Linked DNA regions of Homo sapiens: regions 2, 3, 4, 5, 6 and 7 are each linked to region 1. Evidence: promoter capture Hi-C in 16 types of primary human blood cells and fetal thymus (Javierre and others, 2016). All regions are on one chromosome and are shown on one strand. The core of a region is centred on a gene start or on the middle of the fragment in contact, and the rest is flanking DNA. Distances in the headings are between cores, read along the strand shown.

What was found. Contacts are between HindIII fragments. The CHiCAGO score rates a contact against its expected background, and 5 or more counts as called.
Region 2: a contact is called between a fragment that was not itself captured here and the fragment with the promoter of MYL12B in region 1, in 3 of 17 cell types (erythroblasts, megakaryocytes and M1 macrophages). The highest score is 12.3, in erythroblasts.
Region 3: a contact is called between a fragment that was not itself captured here and the fragment with the promoter of MYL12B in region 1, in 1 of 17 cell types (neutrophils). The highest score is 5.2, in neutrophils.
Region 4: a fragment that was not itself captured here is called in contact with the fragment with the promoter of MYL12B in region 1 in 1 of 17 cell types (neutrophils); the score reaches 5.1 in neutrophils.
Region 5: a fragment that was not itself captured here is called in contact with the fragment with the promoter of MYL12B in region 1 in 1 of 17 cell types (erythroblasts); the score reaches 5.3 in erythroblasts.
Region 6: a contact is called between a fragment that was not itself captured here and the fragment with the promoter of MYL12B in region 1, in 1 of 17 cell types (fetal thymus). The highest score is 6.0, in fetal thymus.
Region 7: a fragment that was not itself captured here is called in contact with the fragment with the promoter of MYL12B in region 1 in 1 of 17 cell types (erythroblasts); the score reaches 5.9 in erythroblasts.

The regions. Positions count from the first base shown.
Region 1 is chr18:3,260,799-3,263,574 of GRCh38, reverse strand. It overlaps MYL12B (myosin light chain 12B), which reads right to left and starts at 1,442. Exons shown (of 4, transcript NM_033546.4): 1 at 1,338-1,442. MYL12-AS1 (MYL12A and MYL12B antisense RNA 1) reads left to right here and starts at 1,216. Exons shown (of 4, transcript NR_130145.1): 1 at 1,216-1,522; 2 at 2,245-2,303. RefSeq lists a silencer at 897-1,786 and an enhancer at 1,997-2,046. The HindIII fragment of the contact is 3,443 bases long and covers 32-2,776 here.
Region 2 is chr18:3,991,278-3,994,053 of GRCh38, reverse strand. The region is part of intron 3 of DLGAP1 (DLG associated protein 1); the gene reads left to right. It overlaps DLGAP1-AS4 (DLGAP1 antisense RNA 4), which reads right to left. Exons shown (of 5, transcript NR_102696.1): 2 at 852-963. Among named protein-coding and RNA genes, the nearest start is that of DLGAP1-AS4, 30 kb to the right of the region's middle. The HindIII fragment of the contact is 2,341 bases long and covers 285-2,625 here.
Region 3 is chr18:2,540,615-2,543,390 of GRCh38, reverse strand. All of the region lies in intron 8 of METTL4 (methyltransferase 4, N6-adenosine), which reads left to right. Among named protein-coding and RNA genes, the nearest start is that of METTL4, 30 kb to the left of the region's middle. The HindIII fragment of the contact is 8,684 bases long and covers 1-2,776 here.
Region 4 is chr18:2,559,490-2,562,265 of GRCh38, reverse strand. The region is part of intron 3 of METTL4 (methyltransferase 4, N6-adenosine); the gene reads left to right. Among named protein-coding and RNA genes, the nearest start is that of METTL4, 11 kb to the left of the region's middle. The HindIII fragment of the contact is 4,359 bases long and covers 1-2,776 here.
Region 5 is chr18:3,961,626-3,964,401 of GRCh38, reverse strand. All of the region lies in intron 3 of DLGAP1 (DLG associated protein 1), which reads left to right. It overlaps DLGAP1-AS4 (DLGAP1 antisense RNA 4), which reads right to left and starts at 2,049. Exons shown (of 5, transcript NR_102696.1): 1 at 1,972-2,049. The HindIII fragment of the contact is 6,261 bases long and covers 1-2,776 here.
Region 6 is chr18:2,587,028-2,589,803 of GRCh38, reverse strand. NDC80 (NDC80 kinetochore complex component) reads right to left here. Exons shown (of 17, transcript NM_006101.3): 8 at 1,881-1,974; 9 at 494-600. Among named protein-coding and RNA genes, the nearest start is that of NDC80, 17 kb to the right of the region's middle. RefSeq lists an enhancer at 1-670. The HindIII fragment of the contact is 1,652 bases long and covers 623-2,274 here.
Region 7 is chr18:3,921,922-3,924,697 of GRCh38, reverse strand. All of the region lies in intron 3 of DLGAP1 (DLG associated protein 1), which reads left to right. Among named protein-coding and RNA genes, the nearest start is that of MIR6718, 38 kb to the right of the region's middle. The HindIII fragment of the contact is 2,077 bases long and covers 401-2,477 here.

The sequences.
Region 1 (2,776 bases), core at 193-2,692:
TTCAGAAATTGCAGTTCATCTTGTTCAAGCTTAGTTTCATCAAAGCATAAACGAACATCGAGTCAGCCATCATAAAAGCTGTTTCACTCAAAAGAGCCTAAAGCACTCAAAAGTGCTCTTAGTTATAAAGTCCAGGAGGGTCCACCACCTTCGACAAATTACCTCACCTCTCTGGGTTTCACTTTCCTCAGTTATAAAACGCAAAGCCTTCACAAGGTAATCTATCAGGTCCTACTGAATTCTAAATGCTTTGATTCTTCTCTTACCAAAAGACCATTCCAAATCTACCTTAAACTAAAGCGGCCAAACGAATCCTCTAAACATCCCTTTCTTATTACTCCGTTAGTGAAGACTCCAAAATTACTCTCTATGGCTTCTTAGATAATCTTTTCTTTCTCCTAAGTTTTCAAGACATCCATAAGAAGGTCCTACTTACCTATCTACCCTTATTTCCGACTATTAGTCATTACAGTTCTGTTCCATACCCGCCGGTGTCCCCACGGCCTGCTTTTCACAGGACACAATTCCCAGCTTTTGAGTTTTGCTCGTTACCACCTCCCACACATCTAGCCGGAAACGCTAAGTTCTCCCTCTTAAGGTTGAATCCAAGGCCTTCAGTGAGGTCACGACTCTTTTCCAAGTAACCTTTCCCTATTTCTGTTAATGGTCCTTTCTTCAATCAACACGAATAAACTAAACCTTTACAAGATGCAAGACACACTGAGCGAATTACAACTCTATGTAAATCATCACATTTGAGCCCGTATCAACCACACACTCGGTTACCGGCATGCTAATGGCTTCCTTGGAGGCTTCACCTTAGGCAAGACCGTGCAACAGGAGGCTCCTCCACCCTCCAAAGCATCTAGGATAGTGTTGGGCACAGGGCAGGTGCTCCACACGAACACGCCCGGGTCGGCCCCAATCCACCGCCAGGACCCGCCGCGGCGCCGGGAGGGCAGGCGTTGGCCGCCGGGCAGCCGGGCCGTCCAAGGCCCAGGTGTCTGAGGTCACCCAGGTGGCGCAGGGCCGGCCCACGCACGGCCGGGACCCGGCCACTTCTCCAGCAGGGCGTCTCCCCATACCGGCTCCATCGCCTGCAGCCTCCCGGCCCCTGGACGTCCGGGCCAGGGCCTCGCCACCAACCCTCCTCCCGCCGCCAACCCTCCTCCCTCCACCTCCGGCCCCGCGCCCCCTTCTCAGCCAGTCTGACAGGTCCTGCCGCCGCCTGGCCGCCCTGGGGCGGGGTCCGGCCGCAGGCGCGCGACGGGAGGGGGCGCGGGGGTACGGAGACGGCGGCCCGAGGGGTCTCGCGAGCAGAGTCGAGCGCGACTCACCCGACGCCAAACACCAGAACCGGGGCCGCCCTGCGCGAGACCACAAACGACAGCGAAGAGCGTTAGGCTGTGGCCGGACAGTGGCGGCGCCGACACTTCCTGCCTGAAGGGGCGGAGCGGAAGGCGCACCGGAAGGCGCACCGGAAGGCGCACCGGAAGGCGCGGCGGGACCAAGTGGAACGGGGGTGCGCTGAGTGTTCGCGCCCGGGCCGGCGGGGTCTGCGTGTCCGCCGAGCGGCGGGGCTGCTGAGGCCGGACGCACACGGCCGGGGTCTTAATTGCCCCTCCGGCCTGCTCCGATCCGCTGCGATATCGCGGCCTGCGCTGCGGCGGTCGTCCGCAGCCCGGCCCTCGTCCCCCGCTCCTTTGGTAGCTCCGCCACCCTTCCGCATTCCTGGGCCCGCTGGGCGCGGCTGGGCAGGCCGCTGGAATTTGACCCGAGTGGGCCGCGATCGGCCGAGGATTTGGGGTCCCCTTTGACCCAGGCGGGGCGCGATCCGCCTAGGATTTGGGGTCCCCTGGCGCCGAACCCTGAGTTGCCAGATGTAGCAAGTAAAAGTACAGTTCTTCTAAATTTGAATTTCAGACAAGACAGGTTTTAGGGTTCGTCTCATGTAATGTTGAGAAGGTGAGGGCGGCGCCTGGGCGGATTCTTCTCCGTTCCAGAATCCCTTTCTCTTTTCAAACCGCATTACAGCCCGAGTTAAATTCTTTAACCTACTCCTCTCTGCTTACCCTCATAAGGTTTACGGCCGTATCAGGCTACGGCCGCAGCCTACGGCTGTTTGATTCCCCTTTTGGCCACAAGAAAGTTTTATTCGAACTACTTGCTTTCCTTTATCAAGAAAATGGCAACGCACACACATACATGCACACACAAATAAAAACACAAAGCTACGTTTTTCAGGTTTTGTTCTAGATCGTGTTTGTGGCTGTGTTCTTCAGGATATTTTCCCTCACCTTGAGGTAATCTAGCATTACTTCATCTAGCATTACTAAAATAGCATTACTTCAGGATGGTGGAGGATCGGCAATCTAATAGCAAATCTTTATTGAACTCTTCTTACTGCCTTAACATGTGCCGGATGCTGAGAGATGAATTCAAAGCCTCTTAGGGAGTTTATATTCTAGAAATCTTTGATCAGAAATTCCTAGAAGAGAGGGACCTTGTGTTCAGCACTCTGTAGCAGTTCTTAAACAGTAGCACGCATAATAACAGGGCTTTTAAAAACATTTTTGAGCCTCAAAACCGGGTATCAGGATTCAGTGAGTAAGGGGTGGAGGATAATTCGAATTTCTGGTAAGCACACATGATGCTGATGGGGTGGTCGCCATCCCAGCAGCACAGCTCTAAACGCGGTTCATAACTGTGTGTATTTTCTCAATAGTGTTAGAAAAGCAATTGCTGAAAAGTCACACCTGGTTCTACAATATTTACT
Region 2 (2,776 bases), core at 206-2,705, 730 kb before region 1:
CGCTTCAAGGGGGTCTCTGTGGTTCTTCTCTCCTTATCTTTTTACTTCACTCACCACATTCTTACCAAACCAAAAGGAAAACAACAGTGGAGGGAAAGTCTTACACATGTCAGGCTTTTAGACAGAACCTTTTATTCCTCATCTCATATATATTTTCTGCTCTATAAAAAACTAAAACTTTATCTTCTCAACATCTCGCTATGATAAGCTTTTAAGTGGGTCTTAAGCCCACTTAAAAGATGCTGCACCCTGATTTTGTTGCTGCACCCTGATTTGGGGAAGCTTGGTCAGTGATCCCATGAGAAGGGAAACTATGAGAGATTCATTCTCTCCTGAATCGCTTAGGAGGTCCCATTAAAGCCCCTGCTAAACTCGTCATCCCCAGTCTGGACCACGTTTGGTTAATTTCCAGTTTTTCCTTTCCTTGCAATAACCTGCTTGAAACTCCACCAGGGAAAATAAATAATAATTCAAATGCAAAACGCGTTGTCACTTTTATAAAATATTGCTCTCCTTGCCCCACCCTCACCCCCTCCCTTTCTCCCCTTCATGATTTTTACTGAAAGGAGGAAAGACAAGGAAATCTCAATGGTTTCATTCTTAGCACACATTCTAAGTCTGTCATTAAATGACCGCTGATTTTGTCACATACATATGGACAAAACTCTGTAAGAAAGCAATTGATTAAAATCAATGAGAATTTGCTGCGCTGAAATGGAATCAGTGAATAAAAATTTATTCTGTTTCTTTTCTTTTTTCTAAGAGTCCTCTCCATTATTCAAAAGAAGCCTGTCTTATCCTGTTTCCAAACTCCTTTTCCTTTTCTTTCCCCTATGCTGTTGATTTCCTACCTTCTTCCCACGTGAGTCGCCGGTGCAAGAGGGGGGTTCCTGCTTGGGTACCCACATCAGTAGGTTTTGTCTCCTCATCTGCTTGTCTTCTGAAGATAAATCGTTGGCAGAACTGAAAAAAAAAAATCATGGAATGGCTTTTTTACATTTCTGCCAGGGGGAGGCTATTTTGTAATCTTTTTGCAGCCTTCCTGTGCACAACCCAATCCCAAGCTGACTTGATTATCTCCTTAACTGTTAAGAGCAAAATTTAAAACTGGATTTTGTTACCTGCCCCAGGAGCAGATGCTACATTGCTGAGGTGTCTTGTGAATTGCCAGCGTTCCTTTTCTTTTACAGACAGGTCTTAAAGGTCTTCCAGGGACCCCCTATTAGCCAAATAACCTTGATAGTTATTACAGAGAAATTGTAATTCTTTTTGAAAGTATTTGTACACTCATCCATGCCAATATTTATAGATCAGTTGATTTTTCCAGGTTGTGTAAGTTGCTAACAATGGAACTCCATTTATTTATTTATTTATTTAGAGACAGGGTCTGGCTCTGTCACCAGGCTGGAGTACAGTGGCATAATCACGGCTCACTGCAGCCTCTGCCTCTCAGGCTCAAGTGATCCTCCCGCCTTAGCCTCCCAGTTAGCTGAGACCACAGTTGTGCACCACCACACCTGGCTAATTTTTGTAATTTTTGTAGAAAACAGATTTCACCATGTTGCTCAGGCTGGTCTGGAACTCCTGGACTCAAGCATTCCACCCGCCTCAGCCTCCCAAAGTGTTGGGATTACAGGCGTAAACCACCGTACCCAGCTGAGACTCCATTTAAATAGGTGGCTTTTATGTGAATTATTAATTTTGATAAAGAGAAGAGAAAAGCTGATAGATCAGTGTTTAAAAATCATTTTATGAACTAAGTTCAAAAGAACAACTAGGGCCTGCAGACTTCCCTACTTTACAAAGTAGTGGCCTGGCCAAGGATGTTCCAAACAAGAAATCTTTTCAAACGTGCTTTAAATCATTAAAATAGGGGACCAATATGAGTAAACCAATATAATGAGGCAAACTAAGTAGGAGATTTTTAATGAACATTTTCAAGGCACAGGGAAAGAAGCCACAAAGAGTAACAGCATTTTTCTGCACATACTGTCTTATGAATCTAGATTCATCTTGTTTATTGTGGAACTATGTGATTGGGTTAGCCATCAGGGGAGAGAAGTACTTTATGATGTAAAAGCTGAGTCTCCAGAGATAAAAATCTCTTCAATTTGTCATTTTTCAAAATATCACAAAGAATCCATGTTTCCGTGGTCTTCGATAAAGAAAGCGTGTCAAGGCAAGATATACACAAAAAAATAAATCAAAGTGGTTAGTTACAATGGGATAAGCAACAGCTACACTGAAAAATTCTATATGTAATGCAGTTTTCTTTTTGTGTGGAAAAGAGTAGGACAAGATATGAGATTCCTGGTCTGGAGAGTGGGTGAGATATTAACATATTAAAGCAGGAATGTCTGAAACATGCATTGTGTATTTTCCACTGTCTCAGCCCAAATCAGGCATAGCTCTGGGGAGAAGGGAGAAGGGCAATACCAACCAGAAAGTATCTCTGTGATTCTTCAGGCTGCTTGGGCAGTCAGCCTCCAGAAGAGACCCCACTCAAATCTGGGTCATCCAGGCACACTGGCCACTCACCACCTCTGCGGTGTTATTTCAAGGATGCTAACCCCAAGGTTCCCACCACTGCCACTGGCCAATATCTGAAATTCCCCTGACAAAGCTTCCTCATTAGCATAAGGTTTGGACTCCTGAAATGAACCAACCATGTCTCTTAAACTTTTCCTTGAACTCTATCCCCCCACCGGAAATACAGAGAGATGAGTAAATACAAATATATAAGAATTCTATTTAATTCTAATCATTTCAATATTTA
Region 3 (2,776 bases), core at 104-2,603, 720 kb after region 1:
TTTGATATTCAAAGTTTACTTTTCAAAGGATTTCTTCAGGAATACATATTTTATTGGTTTGGTAATTTCTACCAACAAAAAACTGCTACAAGTTACCACTCAGGAAAACTACAGGAGCTTATGTTACCTTGCAGAATATGAGGCAGTTTATGACCTGGGAAATGGAGAAAGTGAATACAAATTCCTAGAGAATTTTTATTGCTAGCACTTAGGATTTCTGTTATCTTAAATAGTTTATGGAGAAGGGTCCTTTTTTAATTTTTTTTTTTTTTTTTTTGAGATGGAGTCTCACTCTGTCACATACAGTGGCCTGATCTTGGGTCACTGCATCCTCTACCTCCTGGGTTCAAGTGATTCTCCTGCCTCAGCCTCCTGAGTGGCTGGGCCTACAGATGTGTGCCACCATGCCTAATTTTTATATTTTTAGTAGAGACGGGGTTTCGCCATGTTGGCCAGGCTGGTCTCAAACTCCTGACCTCAAGTGATCCGCCCGCCTCGGCCTCCCAAAGTGCTGGGATTACAGGCATGAGCCACCGCACCCAGCCTCTAGAAGGGTGTTTATAGTATTACTTCATTTGAGACATATACAGATGTCTACCTGATAATCCATTCTTTGACTAAGAAGGATTCTCAGTGAATAATCGATTGCCTTATGCTTCGGACTGTCATAGACCTTTAATGCTTTAATATATAACTCAAGTGAAAGTGAGATTGCATTGTTCCTCATGAAAAAAAAATTATACTTGGCACTAGTAATACCTGATTATATATGTATATGTATTCCTCTCATTTGAATTTTATTTATCACTTGGTAACAAAGCTAGTGTTTGTCTCAAACCTTATTTTTTTCTTTTAAAAATTCAAAAGCTAAGACCATAAACTTTTCATTCTGAAATGATAGTAAACTATTTGTCAATTCCTTTAAAATAAAATAAAGTTATATTTAAAGATGAGCCTCAGGAGACAGGTTTTAAAATAGTGAATAAACAGGAAGGGGAACATCACACTCTGGGGACTGTTGTGGGGTGGGGGGAGGGGGGAGGGATAGCATTGGGAGATATACCTAATGCTAGACGACGAGTTAGTGGGTGCAGCGCACCAGCATGGCACATGTATACATATGTAACTAACCTGCACAATGTGCACATGTACCCTAAAACTTAAAGTATAATAATAAAAGAAAAAAAAAATGAGTCTTGCCCTAAAGCATTACAGCTTATATCTTTGAAATGCAGTTCTTCCTCATTCCCAGTAGAGAGCAGCACAAACACATTTTTAGCATTGAAAACATTTAAAGACAAAAGTTAGATTCTGGAGGAAACATCTGAATAACTCCATATATATATAAAATCTTATGTTTTGGTTAAGTAGTGATAGGAAATATTGTAATATTTTATTTTTGAGTTCATGTTACTGTATATATTTTTAGTATAGTTCATGTTTCTATATATTTCAGAAAGCATCTCTCAGATTTCTGCAGTATATTTTACCCTGAAATCATAACTCTAGGGGTTTGGGATGATATATATTCTGTATATAATGCTTACAGCTTTTACATTTAAATATTCTTAAACTGTTTTATGCAAATTAATAAAATGAAATGTTTTCTCTTTTGTATTTAGAAACACCCTGATTTTTTTTTTTTAAGTTTAATTGGTTATTTCTGTTGCAAAATGTAGGAGACCACATTGGTAGCATATGGCATTTCAAAATGATACATTTGCATAAGTTTTGAAATTTTCTCCGATTGAAAGATAAGCTATCAATAGCTATGGTTTACAACCTAACATTATAAAGTGATATTGTTTGAAGATTTAAGGTAGGAAAATCATGAAATAAAGTATTTAAATCAAAATTTTAGCTTTCACATTTTACCTTAGAGGAATTTCCACTTCTTTTTACTGCTTTACATACTAACAGTTTCCATCTGAAGAGTGAAGTTTAGTTGATGGGATTATATGCACTGATGTTTGGGCCACTTCTCTCTTACTCCTGCCCCATGCTTTCAGAGCAAAAACGAAATGACTAGCTGTGCACAGATTGCATCCGCTCCATTAGTTAAAGTGTGTTTTACTAACTCCAGATGTTATGTAATTGTTGAAGTTTATGTGTCATACTCATGTTTAAATTTATACATTCACATTTATTTTTAAATTAATATTTAAAAACCAGAATAATCCATTTTTATTAATTTGCCTTTATTTCTTCTCCCTTATTTTGAAATAAAATAATTGTAGTTAACATTATAAAAACACAACTTAATATTCTGTTTTTCTTAACTAGAAAGGAAAAGAACCATGCAAAAACTTACTACATTGAGAAAATAGGATGGCAGTAAATGGGTTTAGGTTGTATGTATTTTTCCACTCCATCCAAGTACCTGGCCATTATTTTCCATTAGATTGTAAACTCTCATAAAACATGGATATTCTGCTTCCTTTGTTTAAGTTTTATAACACTGATTATAGTGGGTGCTCAGAAGAGGAAACATTTTTGACTGGCTGACTCCAGTTTAAATTTCTAAAATAGGGTTGCTAACATCTTCGTACCAAAAATCTGAACAAATGAAACAAAAACAAACAAAACCTTTCTTCAGCGTAACCTGAGACCACATTAAAGTGAACTGAGGCTGGTGAGGCGTTAAATTCATGGGAAGAAAATGGAAAAGTTCTTCCATGTGGGGTTATTTCCTCCAAGACTCTAGGGAAATCTTTCTCTTTCAAGGTTAGTAGCATTTAATTTATGCACTTAGGAAAGGGTTAGAAGCCTTCGTGCC
Region 4 (2,776 bases), core at 143-2,642, 700 kb after region 1:
GAGTAGATGGGACTACAGGCATGTGCCACCACGCTCAGCTAATTTTTTATTTTTTTGTAGAGATAAGGTCTTAACTATGTTGCCCAGGCTGGTCTTGAACTCCTGGGCTCAAGCAGTCCTCCTGCCTTGGCCTCCCAAAGTGCTGGGAATACAGACAAGAGCCACTGTATGCAGCCCCTGCCCCCCTTTTTTTTAATCATAGCCATTTTGACGGATATAAAGTGGTATCTTATTGTGGTTTTCGTAAACACATTGGGTTTTAAATGTTCTGAAGACAGCTGAATACACAAATGTTAAATCCCTCAATGTGAGCAGTTTATCTGTTAATTTTGGAAATACACTTATTTTCTGGAAATGACACTTGCAAGGTTAACTGCAGAAATACCAGGAAAATCCAGGGTATTTATATCTATAAAAAAATTAATAAGATTTACTTTCACTTTAAAGTTTACATGAAATTAGAGAATAGAATTTCTTGAATTCATGTATATTCTAATTGCTAAATACTTGTATTAATCATAAATACAAATTATGAAATGTGCTGCAGAATGGAATCAAACTCTTAAAAAGTAGTAGGACAGAATATTTGCTGAATCAGATTTAGAGGTTTGACTATCCGGTAGTGCCAGTCCTGCCCATCCCCATCCTTTTCTCATCACTCCTCTTTTTAATAAATTTGTTTTCTTTCCCCATATAAATTTTAGGATCAATGATAACATCTAGTTAGAAAACCTGTTGCCATTTTTATGGCATCAAGTTAAATTTCTAAATTAAATTAGGGCAGTGTTGACATCTTTAAGATGTTGGTGATTCCGCCCCAAAACATGAATGTATTTTTCCATTTGCTCACGTTTTGTTTTGTCGTTGTGTAAAATTTTCTTTATAAAGGCCTTGCAGGTTTCTTGTTAAGTTGTAGTAATTTTTTGTTGTTGTATCTCTTGGATTTTCCAGATATAGAACTCTTTCAAATAGTAGTAATTTTACTTATACCTTTCCAATTATCATGTTTCTGATTTCTTCTCTAATTCTGTAGGGTGGAAATTATAATACAATATTAAAGAATATTTGTGTGCATAATAAACATAAGTAATATATGTGAGCATATTTACTTTGTCTTGTGCTTGACAAGGGGGATAATTTCATCATTAAGCATAATACTGGGTTTCAACTGAGTTGGAAATAACATGTTAGGCATATATGGAGATTGAACAGATTTTTTTTTTCTTTTTTAAAAATTTTTTTCCATGAACCTATTGATCCTATTGAAGGAGACTGAATAGATTTTTCCTATGATTCTTCCTCAATTAACCATCCTTGCATTTGCAGAATATATTCCAAATGATCATGATGTTACTATTTTTAAAATGTTCTACTGGATTTTCTTTTTTGAGACAGAGTCTCGCTCTGTCGCCCAGGCTGGAGTGCAGTGGCCCATCTCCGCTCACTGCAAACTCTGCCTCCTGGGTTCATGCCATTCTCTTGCCTCAGCCTCCCGAGTAGCTGGGATTACAGGCGCCCGCCACTACGCCCAGCTAATTTTTTGTATTTTTTTAGTAGACACGGGGTTTCACTGTGTTAGCCAGGATGATCTCAATCTCCTGACCTCATGATCTGCCCGCCTCGGCCTCCCAAAGTGCTGGAATTATAGGCGTGAGCCACTGCGCCCGGCCTCTACTGGATTTTATTTGCTAATGTTTTATTTGGGACAGTCATAAGAGAGATTGGTCTGATATATTTACTTCTTCGGCCTTATATATAATTATATATGTAAATATGTAGGATGTTTGCACGCTGGAGAACTTATTAGCCCTCTCGTGTTGGAAGCTAGAAGTTTTCCTTCTTTTTACTTTCCAATTTTCTGGAGCAATAGAAAAATAATTGGGATAATTTGTTCTTTAAAAGTTTGATAAAGTTTGATAGAACCCCCACTTTGTAACCATCTCAGTGTGTTGCTTTTTGTGGTGGATACTTTTTTGGCAACTTTACTTTTTTCCTCTTTTCTTTTTTCTTTATTTATTGATAGAAGAATTTAATGATGAGACTTTTTCTCTGGGCACAGCTTTAGCAACATCATGTACGTTCCGATGTGTTGTGTTTTAATTGTCATGGGGGAAGGTTTTTAGTAACAAAATCAGGTTTTTTAATAGAGAACCGGATTTTCAGGTTTTTTGTTTCTATTGATGTCAGTTTTCACAAGTTTTATTTTCTAAGAAATGTGTTCATTTCAGGCTGGACATGGTGGTTCATGCCTGTAATCACAGCACTATGGGGAGGCCGAGGTGGGCAGATCACTTGATGTTAGGAATTGGAGACCAGTCTGGCCAACATGGTGAAATCCCATTTCTACTAAAAATATAAAAAAATTAGCCAGGTGTGGTTGTGGGCACCTATAACCCCAGCTACTTGGGACGCTGAGGGAGGAGAATTGTTGGAACCTGGGAGGTGGAGGTTGCGGTAAGCCGAGATCATGCCACTCCATTCTAGCCTGGGTGACAGAGAGACTCCCTCTCGAAAAAATAAAAAACAAAAAACAGAAATGTGTTCATTTCATCCTAGTTGTCAAATTTGTTAGCATGAAGTCATGTTATCTTATGCTTTCTTTTAATGTCTGTAGGATCTGTGGTGATGATAACTTTTTCATTGCTTTTATTAGTAATTTGTGGTTTTTTTAAATAGGTAAAATATACGTATCATAAAATTTACTGTTTTAACCATTTTTAGATGTACAATTTAGTGGCACTAAGTACATTCAGAGTGTCATGCCATCATTACCACA
Region 5 (2,776 bases), core at 79-2,578, 700 kb before region 1:
TCACGCAGACTCTTTTCTCCTTCTACAGCTTCCCAGTTCACATCATTAACAGGACAACTATTGGCCCATTTTCCCAAGGTGGAAACATTGAATTTTTTCCTGGGCCTTTTTCTGCCTTTCCACTAATGATAAATAGATCCCTAAATCACATAAATTCTGCCAAAGAAATTTACCTCTGGTGTTCTTCCTGTCTGCACTGCCCCTTTTTTAAAGAGTGTAAATTATCTTACACTTTTGTGTTTTATGCTGAGATTTGAGAATAAATAGGGAGTGTGTATACATATCCAGCTCATCATCTTAACCCACTCCTCCTAATTTTATCTTAGGAATGACGCCTCCTGCAGTGTAGAACAATAGAAATATAACCCAAGCCACGTATACGATTTTAAATTTTCCAGTAGCAACATTATAGAAATAAAAAGAAAGAAATGAAATGAACTTTAATGCTATGTTTAAGCCAATGCATCCAAAATATTAAAATTTCAAACTTTAATTGGTATTTACATTATTCTTAAGGGCTTTACCTTCCTTTTTCTTTGTACAAAGTCTTCGAAATCTAGGGCTCAATGGTCACATGTGGCCAGTGGCTGTCACAGCAGATAGCCTAGGTGTTGGACGTGAGCTGAAGGGGCTTACACTAGAGATCCCATAGAAGATACACCTACAGCCTTGGTGAGGGACAAGGGCATATATCAAGGTACTTGCAATGGAAACAAAGAATCAATCCATAATCACACTGAAAATATGAAGCAGAGAACCAGAAGGCAAATGTAATCCAATTAAGTATAAAATTGCACTAAAAAAAAAAAAAAAAAAAACAGCCCAAAGTACACAGAAGAGAATGGAGCTTCAAAGGTAAAGGATAAAAACAAACCACAGCCCAGGAGAGAAGCTCAGAGACAAACTGTACAAGAAAGGGACCTGGGGCAAATGTGTCAGTAATTAGGAGGTGGTCTTGGAAGAGCAGGGTAGCCTGGGCACCTCATCCTCATGCACATTTGAGTCCAGGCAGCTGCACACTTTCCTTCAGCCTCACAAGGCCCAGCAACTGTGCTCTCAACAAAGGAAAAGCTCTTCTGCTGGTTTATATTTATGAGAAGCAGAGTAGAACCCTGGGGGGTGAGGGGGGCAATGAAATGGAGCCTTTGGAGCTGGAACTGGCCCAGCTTCAGGTGAAGCCTCCAAGTGGGTATTCTGAAGTGAGGACTGTAACAAGAGAGGCCAAGAAGGCTATGTTCCAGTTAAGGAAAAATCCCCTCTGGCACCCCCAAAGCAAAGCAGTCTCCCCCATCCTGCTCTCCCCACAATTATAGAAGGCAGACAGAAGAGATCAAGATGCACATGAATAGAAAACAGCACTTCTCATTTGGATTGAGGAAATTTTCAGTCTTCAACCAGTCCTTCAACATGAGCATGAATAGATAACTGAGAATCACCAAACTTTGAAAGAACACCAACACCTACAAGAAGCATCAAATCAACAAACTGAAGAACTAACTCACCCCAAGGAGACCTTGTCAACAGAAAAAAAAGCAAAGACAATTTTCAGATAAGCATAATAACCAAAGAAATGTAATCATTTTGTCCTCAAATATTCAATAAAATAAGACCAAGCCACTCTTTTTAAAACTCCTGGGAGATACACGCTGTCAGTCCAAAGCAAAATGCATACAACTAAAGAATAAATGTCCTGGAAGGATTCCTAAAAATATCATGAAAACAAGCATAGGGATGGAAAGAATGGGAAGAGTGATGTAGGAATGATGGATAGAGCCAAACCTCAAACGTCTATCAAATAGGAATTTCAGAAGAAAAGAACAAAAAATGGAAGAGGGAAAATACTGACCAAATTAAAAGAAAATTTCCCTGAAGTACACAGCTTGGTAAATGTTCAGAATATTTACATATAAATAAATATATGAATATATAAAGGTTCCAGGCTGCAGGGAGAAGTGAACACAGATTACTTACAAGGGAATGAGGAGCAGGTAGGATGAGATGTTTCATCGCAATTCATTCTACACACCAGCAGTCATTGGATCAATTCTCCCAAGTGCTCAGGGAAAATGAATACTAGTTTGTTACCAGTTCAAACTCAAATTTAATGTGAAGAAACGATGAGTGATTGGACAAAGTTTACCCGATGACGTCCTTTCTGAAAGAATAACTAGGGAATTTATTTCAGCAAATGAATCCAAAAAAGAAGGACTGCAGATATTAAAAGTGGTAGCAAACAAAAATTCTTACCACTGAGACGTAACTGCCTGATTGTGCATCATATATATTTTTTTAATCTCAAGCAAAAATTCCCAGATCTTTTTGAGAATCAATATCCTAAGGTAATATCTTCTACTGTCTTGTACCAAAGAAAGATCAAAGTGTTGCCCATGACCTGTTAATACACGGCGAAGGGATCCTTTACTGTATGTGACTCAGAGTCCAAGAACCTGGTCAATCATGTTAGCATCCTGCATCCAGTCCTCCCTGAAACCTGAGCAACCCAAGCCACTGTCCTGTGCCCTGTGTCAGAAGACCCCTCTGTGGCTTTCCTCTGTCCATGCCCCTCACAGCAGCATGATGAGTCTGCAGGCCCCCAAGCCCATGCTTCCCCTTGCCCCACTTGTGGGCCATGCTCCAGGTACCTGGGATGGTAGAATTCCCAGTCAGTTGGCCCTGAGGCCCCTTCCAAGGCCTGCAAAGCTGTTCTCCAGGTCTGCCCTCCCACTGCTGACCAGGCATCAGTGTGTGCCCTCCTTGGATGAAGGATGGCCAAGGA
Region 6 (2,776 bases), core at 199-2,698, 670 kb after region 1:
CAAATATTTAAAATCTGGTATTTTACAACAACAGTTTGAGTGCTTCACTAATAATGCAGAAAATAAAGTTAGATAACTGGATATTAATATTTAGCTTTTAGAAAACTCAGGATACAATATACTATATAAACCCATTTATTAACCATTCCTTTTGCACTACCTCCAAAACTCAGGGCTTCTTGTGACTAATGCTCCCTAGAGGTATATAACACAGGGCCTTTGTTCAAAAGTACTTTTGATCTTATGTAAGTAGGTAAGAATCTTTCATCATATCCAGAGCACCATTAGTCTAAGACTGATAGACCGCAAGGGAAAACAAGGCTCCACAGATACCAAACATGTTTTCATTGGGAGTTTCTAGGTGAAAATTTAACTTTTAAGAAGCTTAATTTGTTAATCTATTTTTTAAAATTTTGATAAAGACAGCTAATATCCAAGGACACCCAAAAGTCTAAAAGAGCTCTCAAGTAAGTGTGTAAACATGTTTACTAACCGGTTCTTTTTCTCTTTCTTGTTCCAATCTTGCAATCTGTTCATTCAATGCTCTGTTTTTTGCTTCTAATGATTCCAGCTTAAAAGCATCCACATTAAATAAATCCTCTGGAGACAAAATCCAAAAGCTTTTTAAGACCTCAAATCCGCCTAGAACATTCTTTCCCAAGTTTTCACCATTACTCCCTCCCTCACTTCCTTCTGGTCTCTGCCCAAAACACTATTAGTGAAGTACATCCCATCCTTGTAAAACAGCAAACCCTTTCCATTACTCCACCGTACTTCGACTCTCCTTGTCCTGCTTGATTTTTCTCCAAAGCGCTTATCACCATTTGACTTAAAGTTGCTCATTTCATTATTTTCCTCTTTCTGTCTACTAAAATGTAAGCTCATAAGGGCAGAGGTTTTTATCCTATTCATTACTGTATCCTCAGTGCCTAAATGGTGGCTGGCACATAGTAGGTATACAAAAAATATTTATTTGAATAAATGAATGCAGTTTTTATGCTTGGTTAATTATATACAGAAATATCAAATTACTCATTAGATGCTTAGATCACTCTAAATTTTCCTCTCTTAAAACAAAGCCATTTATTTTGCTCCCTTTCCCATGTGAACAAGCTGAAATTGTCCTGGTTACTCTTCAGGAAGATACAATCCCAGGGGACTATAAGGGAATGCTTTCAGCTTTTGTGATAATACTGGCAAAGTGATTGATTCCATTGTTGGAGGAATAGCTTCACCTCCATTTATCTATTTTACCTTCCATTTTGGCATTTTATATACAAGACTATTTCAATAGAAAGAATGAAAATGTAAAATAATACCTCTGGAATGTTTTAGAGTTATCTAGTAAATACTGTATGTCACTAGGTTGTAAATGAGTAAAAAAAAAAAAAGATTTTCCTTACATATTTGGAAGTATAATGTCTTGTTAACTTTTTGCCACAAATTTTGAAAGAGACCTTAGGTCTTTTGACTAATTGGTGCTTTAATTTCTCAAATAGTAAGCAAGGACAACGTAGGGATATTATCCCCCAAGAGGAATAGCATTTGCTAATTATTGTCTATGCTTCTGGTAGCATGTTTGGTATATTATGACTTTATTATACTGTCATCTACTGCTGCTACACTTTGTCAGGAGGTCAAGTATTTTATTAAGGCGCCACAGACAGTAAGATGTTATGGCTCAGGTCTGGCTCCAACACTAGTATTCTTTTTGTTTAACTTCTCTCCACCAAAGAAACCACAAAGATAAAAATCAGTAGGCATCCAGATACATTTAAAGTAAGTAGCTCATATGAACACTGGATATGGTAAATAAATTACCACTCCATGAGCAGAGTGAAATGACCAAAAGCAAGCACCCTAAGAACGAGAACACTTACTCAGTTTTGACTGCAGCTCTGCATTCATCTCATCAAAGCTGTCGGCACCACTCATAAAACTCTCATAGCATTTTATGGTGTAGTCCAAAAACAACTATGGGGTTAAGCAGATTTTAGAAACAAAGTTATGATTCTCTATTTGGTCTGTTTCACTTTTCTAGGTGGAAATTTATATTTGAATTTAAAAAATAGTCAGAAATACTAAGTAGTCAGATGAACCTATAAATAAGAGACAAAAACCTAGGCTATATAATTATGCTATATGGACTTATTTAGTCTGCTACTTCTAAATATGAATAATGAGGATAAAATAACACTTAAATTTGGATAAAGGCAATATTTAAAAACAGCCATACCTTCAGAATTTTGAGAAGGTCAAACAAACAGGGAAGCTTATTAATAAATGTAATTCAACATAAAATGCACAAACTTAATCATCTTTAGGAATAAAGCACCTGATGAAAAATTTAAATAAACTGCTGATCATCTAAGTCCAATTGAATTGATAAGGTCTAATTGTAAAAACCCAAATGTAATTAATGAAGGCTACAATTACATTGTAACTTCAGGCTAAAAAATGAATTGCATGATGAGTAGCAATCTAAACAGTACAATACTAGAATTCTTAACATTTATCCAAGAGAAAATAACACTATATTTTGCATTCATGAGATGTTTTGGTCACTGAGAATGTAGACTTTATGAGAAGGCAAGAATGGATGATCAGAATTTTCCATACCTTAGATGAAGTAAATATCCCTCAAGACAAACCAATTCCCTTTGTGCTAATTCATTGCTTATTAAGGTGACCTTGAAGTGAGTACCCTGAATAGGCAGTCTGAGTATTCCTGTAACTGGAAAGGTGTATCACTGATGGTAAATTAATACATTTTCAT
Region 7 (2,776 bases), core at 190-2,689, 660 kb before region 1:
CCTGGAAACAGATTTGGCTGCATCAGAAGGTCAAGTATGTGTCATCACCATCAATGTGGGGAAAAGGGCTGGGTAGCACCTTATGGGGATACGGCTGAAAAAATTCACACTTTCAGGGGAGGAAATGAACAAGTTCACCTCCAAGGGTTTTTTGTAGGGTTTCTTTTTCCCCCAAAACTTGAGATTTGTGTATGCTAATGGCATTGACTTAGTAAACTGCTTTGTGGAGAAAATGTTGGCATCTTGAAAGAGAAGGAAAACATAAACAGAAAATCTAGGGAGCTTCATGAGAGAATAGGGTGGCAGTGGGGGAGGAAGTGGAGGGTGTGGACCTAGGGCACCACACCTGGGAGAGTGTAGTGGAACTGGTTTTGTTTTCTGAACTGTTCAACCAAAAGCTTTTTATATTTCCCCATGGTTTTCCAGGCAACTGATTGAGGAGGGTATATGCAAGATGATAAATGGGCTTTTCACTTCTTTCCACTGGGGCAGCAGTGATTCTATGGCGATGTAGCTAATATGACGTGAGAGAGTCGGTTGCTTTCTAGCCTCTGCCAGGCTCACTATTTCTGTAATAGTGACACTCCATGAAATAGTTATTTCTGTGACATCACTGACACTTTTAAACAACAGATAGAGGAAAGATGTGAAGGTTCCATGTCTCTACATGTGGCTGAACTCTCAAATGTGGTTAGAGAATCATGTTTTCTCCAGTGCATTTGAGCTGAACAGTAAGCAGGATTGCTTGGTGAGTCGTCATTAGATAGTGACTCAACACCAGCACCATCTCCTTTAAGATACTGGTTTTGTCTCTAACTTAGATGCCACGACTTTGATGTAATTTTATGATTCTCCTTTCTAAAAGTGAATCAGCAATATGATAAAAATTTATTCAAAAATGTGTTAATACCAAAACAACAGGATTACTGTTTTAGTACAGAGGAATGTAAGGGACTTTGGTTATACTTCCAGATAGCAAGAGTGACACACGATAGAAATTGGTATCACCAAAGATTAAGGAATCATCTTTGGAATTTAAAAAATGGAAACTAAAGTGATGTTTTTTTAAACTCAAAGTTGGGAAAACTTTTATAAACACGATGTAAACCAGATTTTGAAGTAAAATATTTATAAATTTGGCTACATAAAAACAACAAACAAGTTAAAAAAGACATTAAACTGGAAAAATATCTGTAAAACTTGACTGACAAAGCAATAATTTCCCATAAAGCCAATGAATTTTTACAAATAAAAATTTTAATTTAATGAAAAAGAGCAGAAGTTATAAACAAAAAGTTTACAGAAGAAATACAAAAACGGCAAATAAACATGTGAAAAGTTGTTCAGTCTTATTTATAATAATGTGAAAATTAAAACAAGACATCATTTTTTAAAAATCAAATAAGATACTGATTTCATCCAAAAGATATTTAAGAGTTTATTATACCCAGGACTGGTAAGACTGGAGAAGACCCTGTTCTTCTCCAATGAACACTATTCAATGAACAGTATGAACACTGTTAGTGGGAGCAAAATTAGTGCTTTTTTTTTTTTTTTTTTTTTTGAGACAGGTTCTCTCTCTGTCGCCCAGGCTGGAATGCAGTGGTACAGTCTTGGCTCACTGCAACCTCCGCCTCCTGGGTTCAAGTGATCCTCTCACTTCAGCCTCCCGAGTAGCTGGGACCACAGGCGTGCGCCACCACGCCCAGCTAATTTTTATATTTTTGGTAGAGATGAGGTTTTTACCATGTTGGCTGGGCTGGTCTCAGACTCCTGACCTCAAGAGATCCTCCCCGCTCAGCCTCCCAAAGTGCTGGGATCACAGGAACGAACCACGACACTCGGCCTAGTGCATGCTTTTTGAAAATAAATTTGACAGTATTTATTAAATCTGAAGCTACCTAAATCCTTTTACCCAGAAGTAACTCCATTTGTAGTAATTTACTTCATGGAAATGGATATATATGAAAATAACTGAGAGATGACTTCAAATAGCACAAAGCTAGAAACAAAAAACATTCCTCCATAAAGGGCCAGTTAAATAAATCCTGATCAAGCCAGAAGGTAAAATAATATGCAGCTATTAAAAGGAATTATTTTGAACCTCTTTTTGATGATTTGCAATATGTCCAAGATCATGTAGTATTAAGTGAAGAAAACAAGTTGTAGATTATTTTGTGCATGACACAAAAGAAAAACCGTTAACAATGGGGAATGGAATCCAAAGATTGTAGCTTTATTTTTCCTTTATCCCTAGAGAGTAATACATGAGCATTTCATCTTAAACACGCACAAATGACAATGCTATTACTGAGGAATTCTTCTCCAGGGGTAAAGACTTCATATCCCTAGTGCCTGGCTTAATGCCGGGCACCTCTCCTTTTCATTCATTGTCAAGATCCTAAAAATAATTGTCAAACCTGTTTTTCCTCACTTATTTTCTTTTAATTTATTATTTATTTAACTAAAACGAAGCTTTTTTGGACCCTTAACTGCAGCAAAACTGCTCAGATAAAGGAACTCAGCAATCTCCCAATTGTCAAATTAAATGTTCTTTTTTGGTCTTGATCTCACATTTCCTATTTGTGGCATTTGCTACTGATGACCACTTGCCTCATTTTAACCTGCTGCCTTCCCAATTCCCTGTCTCCTGCAGGAGCCCTTCTGCCTCTTGCTTTAAATGTTGGCATCCCCTCAGGTCTGAGGCGGCAACTGTCCTGCTCTCATGCTATAATTTTCCAAATCTAGATCTCTCAATAGAGCACTCTTCCTGAAC